2 separate regions of the Homo sapiens genome follow, and region 1 is linked to region 2. The links are contacts of gene promoters, found by promoter capture Hi-C in human tissues and cell types (Jung and others, 2019). All regions are on one chromosome and are shown on one strand. The core of a region is centred on a gene start or on the middle of the fragment in contact, and the rest is flanking DNA. Distances in the headings are between cores, read along the strand shown. Region 1 overlaps OSBPL1A (oxysterol binding protein like 1A). Region 2 holds the start of SS18 (SS18 subunit of BAF chromatin remodeling complex).

The links. Contacts are between HindIII fragments. The study calls those that stand out against the background at their distance.
Region 1: a contact is called between a fragment that was not itself captured here and the fragment with the promoter of SS18 in region 2, in 1 of the 25 tissues and cell types used here (dorsolateral prefrontal cortex).

What each region holds. Positions count from the first base shown.
Region 1 is chr18:24,291,631-24,294,513 of GRCh38, reverse strand. The region is part of intron 14 of OSBPL1A (oxysterol binding protein like 1A); the gene reads left to right. Among named protein-coding and RNA genes, the nearest start is that of MIR320C2, 29 kb to the left of the region's middle. The HindIII fragment of the contact is 3,744 bases long and covers 1-2,883 here.
Region 2 is chr18:26,089,207-26,091,906 of GRCh38, reverse strand. SS18 (SS18 subunit of BAF chromatin remodeling complex) reads left to right here and starts at 1,294. Exons shown (of 11, transcript NM_001007559.3): 1 at 1,294-1,406. The coding sequence starts at 1,338. RefSeq lists an enhancer at 840-959. The HindIII fragment of the contact is 6,350 bases long and covers 1-2,700 here.

The DNA of each region.
Region 1 (2,883 bases), core at 125-2,624, 1.8 Mb after region 2:
GCCTGTAATCCCAGCACTTTGGGAGGCTGAGTCGGGCGGATCACCTGAGGTCAGGAGTTCGAGACCAGCCTGGCCAACATGGTGAAACCTCGTCTCTACTAAAAAAATACAAAAATTAGCTGGGCCTGGTGGCGGGTACCTGTAATCCCCGCTACTCAGGAGGCTGAGACAGAAGAATCGCTTGAACCCAGGAGGAGGAGGTTGCAGTGAGCCGAGATCGCGCCACTGCACTCCAGCCTGGGCAACAGAGCAAGACTCCATCTCAATAACAACACCACCACCAAAAAAAAAAACAACCACATATTGGATGTAGTGTACACTGCTCAGGTGATGGGTGCACTAAAATCTTAGACTTCTTCACTAAGGAACTTATGCATGTAACCAAACACCACCTATTCCCCCAAAACTATTGAAATATAAAAGCAAAATAGTCGAACTCAAGAAAATAAAACTGAAAAAAAAAATCTGAGAGGAAAAGCACTTCTATTTAGCCTACTTAAAACTGTTTCCTCAAAATCTGGGCTTTGAGTAAACAAACTTACCACTTTCTCTGTTGCCACCTGGTCCAAGCCACCATTGCCTCCCACGTGGACATCTGAAAACCTACTTGCTGTCCCCAGATTTCACCCTTCCCCCTACAGCTTCTGCCCCAAATCCTCCCAAAATGTCAGTGGATTGAGGTCCTTTGCTGGAAACATCCAGTGGCTTCCAGATCTTCTCACTTGGAGTGAGAGACAGAGTCATTCTAATGACCTGCAGAGCCTTCCAGCCCCTTCCACCCCTCAGCCCCCCACCTCCCAGTTCCCTTTCTGGCTCCTCTCCAGCCTCATTGGCCTGGCCTACGCCTGCCAGTGGCCTTTCGTGTGCTGTTCCCTCTTCTGGAAGGCTTTTCTCCTGAGTGGCGTAGTCACTCCCTTCCTTCCCTAGGTCTTTCTTCAAAAGGTGCCTGCACACAGAGGATTTTCCTGGCCTCCTGCGCTGGTTTGCTCCTCCTCGTCTGCTCTGCCCTGCTTTGTGTACTGCAGCCTCAGCCCTGGGGCTTCTTGGCCCTCGGACTTGTGATTGGATTCAGCAAATGGGAGGCTCTGTCGGGAGACCTGCGGAGGGACGGGAGAGGAAGTCGTTTCAGGGCTTTACCTTCATTCTCTCCAGCCGGACTGTGGTTCCGCAGTGCTGCCGGGTTCCTCTGCCTGGCCACTGGCCTGATCTAGACTCCAGCTCTTGCTGGGCTTAGCAATACTGTCCTCTCCCCTTTCCCCCTCTGTGCCAGGATGGTAACTGTGTCCCGCACGCCAGTCTCTGTTACTTCAACCCTCCTCACCTTTGTGAGCAATCTCTTTTTCAAATTCTTCTCAGTTAACGTTTTAATTTTTTCTTTTCTTTTCTTTTTTTTTTTTTTTTTTTTTTTTGAGACGGGAGTCCCTCTCTGTCGCCTGGGCTAGAGGCAGTGGTGCGATCTTGGCTCACTGCAACCTCCGCCCCCAGGTTCAAGCGATACTCCTGCCTCAGCCTCCTGAGTAGCTGGGACCACAGGCGCGAGCCACCACACCCGGCTAATTTTTATATTTTTAGTAGAGACGGAGTTTCTCCCTTTTGGGCAGGCTGGCCTTGAACTCCTGACCTCAAGTGATCCACCCACTTCAGCCTCCCAAAGTGCTGGGATTACAGGCGTGAGCCACTGTGCCCAGACCTCAGTTACCTTTGAGCAGGCCAGCTCTTCCCTGCTGAGACCCTTAGCTGGTACCTCATCCTCTGTGAAGTTCACCTCCCCTCAGCACTTGTTACCCCTCTACCTTACTGCAGTTTCTCTTTTGTTACTTATCAGACTTCCTATGAGTGTGTGTAGTTGATTGTCTGCCTTTCCCACCGTGGTATAAACTTCAGGGCAGGGATTTTTACCTGTTTGCCGATTATCTTTGGTACCTCAACAGAACTTGGCATGTGATGGGGGTCTCTCTCTCCTCTCTCTCGCCGTCTCTCTTTCTCTCTGTGTGTGATGAATGAGTGAGTGAAATGAATGACCTACTTATCTAGCTTAAATTTATACCTTATATCTCTCAAACTCAGGGAGAAACAATAAATTTCTGTCAAGTTAGTAAATTTAACGAGTGTACAAGTCAAAGAGACCTTTTAGAGACATGAAATAGGGAAGAAACCATCAGAACTGTGGCATATTTTGCATTCTTTTGCCAAGAGGGTTTCCACAGTTAATGCCACTGATTTTTATATCCTACTCCTCTCCCCTGAATTCTGTTTTATTTTCTGAGGCAAATCTTTGAGTAATTCTTTCATTGGGGGTCTGTGAGTAGAAGAATTTCTACCTTATCTAAATCTTTATTTCACCCTCACTGGGTTATAGTTATCTTCCACTAGCATTTTGAAGATGCAATTGCAATTTATTCTGACTTCTGATATTTTCTTTTTTCTTTTTGAGACAGAGTTTTGCTGTTGCTCAGGCTGGAGTACAGTGGCGCAATCTTGGCTCACTGCAACCTCTGCCTCCCAGGTTCAAGTGATTCTCCTGCCTCAGCCTCCTGAGTAGCTGGGATTACAGGTGCACCTGCCACCATGCCTGGCTAATTTTTTAAATTTTATTTTAATTTATTTTAATTTTTTATTTTTTAGTAGAGACAGGGTTTCACCACATTGGCCAGGCTGGTCTCGAACTCCTGACCTCAGGTGATCCACCTGCCTCAGTCTCCCAAAGTGCTGGAATTACAGGCAATCTCTCGTTTTTTTTTTTCCCTGTCCCCCAAGTCCCCTTTTGTTACTGCAAAGATTTTTCACTTTGTTTTTGGTATTCTGCAGTTTTATTCTGTCTCTGGGTTTGGATTTTGTTGTTCTATAGCTTGCTTGAAACTCTGTTCTTTAATTCAAGGACTC
Region 2 (2,700 bases), core at 45-2,544:
ACAGGTGCACACCACCATACCCAGCCAATTTTTAAAATTCTTGTAGAGACAGAGGTCTCACTTTGTTGCCCAGGCTGGTCTCAAACTCCTGGCCTCAAGTGATTAAATTTTTAAAATAATGTATTTTTTCTTTATTTTTCCAATTTATATAAAAATGGAAATATTTTTTATTATTCATTAACGTTGGGTAACACTTTATATAAACTTTCCCTTTGTGTTATATGGAAGTCTAAATTTACAGAATACTTTAAAACCCCACGGCAACACAAAACCCACATTTGTCCGTGTTCCTTCCATAATTTGAAAACTTTGCCTTTTTCCCTTACACTGACTTGAAGCCTGGCAGCTTGGGCCTAATTTACAAGGCACTAAGTAAGTACTCTCTTAAAAAACAGAGAGTGAGGATGCCCTGTTTCACAACTTAATTCCAAAAAGCCAAGTCAGACGAAATCGACCCACTTTCCTGCTAAGGGTTTGTCCCAAGAGGCGAGCTCTTCTCTGTCCGCTCCAGCCAAGCTGGCCGATTGCCCCTGAGCACTGGACACAACCTTGGTGTCCCGGTTTCGGGTCAGGGTTACTTTCCAATTGTTAGGCACGACTTTGTGCGTGCGTGCGAGACTGTGGACTCGGAGGTGCGCATTTGGGGCGTAGCCGAGCCATTTAAACCAGCGAATCCGCGTTCACCTTGTCCTTCCACCTCTGCCCTATCTCGGCAGATGCTCCACGGATTTGCACGAACTCCCGAGTCTTGACCTCCCTCCCCTCTCCGGGCTGCCGGGACAACTCGGGGCGGCCACTCTTGCCAGGAGGCGTAAGTAAGGATGAAGTTGGAAAAACTGAACTAGGTCTAGGGCACGCTCTGCAACACAGTCGGGGAGACGCTTCAGAGGGCCGGAGAGGGAGGCAAGTTGCCACGGCGCGAAGGGGGCGGGCCGGCTTGGGCCGCTCGCATTTCCTGTGACAGGGGCTGCCCCAGCCTCTCCTTCTCCCGCGGCGGCGGGACCATTTCCTGAATCGCTGAAGCGGAGGGAGGACTAGGGCGCGACTCTACCATTAGCGCAAAGGGCCAGGGGGTGCCCATAAGGAGAGCTCGGGGGATGCAGGGACGGTCAAGAAAGTTCGGCCAGGGCTAGGGGTCCCCCAGAGTGCGCAGAAGCGAGACATCCCTGGCCAGAGTGCCTCCTTCAGGCCTGCCCCGCCGCCCGTCCGCTTGGCCCCGGAGCATCCCCCCTCCCCGCATTCCCGAGGTGGTTCAGCCCGAGAGGCCGGCGTCTCTCCCCCAGTTTGCCGTTCACCCGGAGCGCTCGGGACTTGCCGATAGTGGTGACGGCGGCAACATGTCTGTGGCTTTCGCGGCCCCGAGGCAGCGAGGCAAGGGGGAGATCACTCCCGCTGCGATTCAGAAGGTGAAACCGCGCGGGGTTGCGGATGCCAGGCCCTTACCGCCTCTGGGAGAGACAGACGCGGGGGGAAGGGCCGGGCCCGGAGTCGACCGGGCCGAGGCGGAGGCGGGCCTGCTGGGAATCAGCAGTGTTTGGGAACACGGACTGCTGGCTGTGCCTGAGTGGGTGGCGGAAGAGGGTGAACCGGTTTTTCTCGGAGTCTTTCACGCATTTACGCGTTTTTCTACAGACACAAAAGCCCAAACAGCCGCCGCCTGATTTCTCTAGGGATGGGGCGGCGTTCGGGCTGCGGGGCGCGTGCGCCCGGCGGCGGCCGCTCAGGGAAGGGCGTGTGTCGGACCGGCGGCCCCGCGCGTTGCTCCGGAGTTACTTTGGCGTCGCCCCGCCCCGCGTGCCGCGGCTGCTTCGTGCGGACCCCACCGCGGGTCGCGGCAGGCAGAGGGGAAGTCGGTGCGCTGGTCGCCGCCCTGCAAACTCAGCCGAGTTTGGGAGCTCGCAGGAGGACTTGGGGAACGCTGGAGGGAACCTTAGTATAGAGTTTGAGGAGCGGGCAAGGAAGGTCCCCATGGACTCTGGGGTTGTCCCCAGAGCCTCTTCTTCCCTTCTGCATCGCCGCCTATTCATTTATTCTGCAGCAAATATTTATTGAGCGCCTATTTTAGGCGCTGAGGCTACTGTGGTGAGTCATGGTCCTTGCCTTCCTGGAGCTTACAGTCTAATGGTGGAGACTGTCGTGACCAGTTAATGTAAGTCGTGATAAATACACAGGGAGCTGCCTCCTTTTTAAAGGATAGAGCTGCTGCAGTCGCTGCTGTGTTACTGCCAGTCGGAACACAAAGGTTCTTTATTGTCCTCTACCCCTTGTTGCCTGCAAGCAAGGCAGCATTCTAAATTTTACTGACCTAGACTTTCAGAAGTTGCTGCTGTATTTAGCAGTTTACTTTAAATATTTTTGTTTTGTTTTATGCTGTGTAGCAAAGATCAAAATAGAAAAAAAGGTCAAGTTTTAGTACCACTCAGACCACGTAGATTATGCTAATCGGTTTCTGTTTACTGTCAGGTTCTTCGTAGTGTGGCTTTTGACATTTGCCCAACTGTTGCTTTATTTTATGAACAAACGGGCTTGGCAGTGCCTGGAAATGCAGTGCTTTCATATAGTGCTCTGAGTTAAGTCTGCAGCCTGGCAAACAGCTCCAAGTACGCACTCACGCAAAACTGCGTTTCTGGAGGGCTCACCTTTTTTATTTTTGTACACAGGAAAAGTCCAGAGTTTTTCTTTTTTTTTTATAGTTTCTGT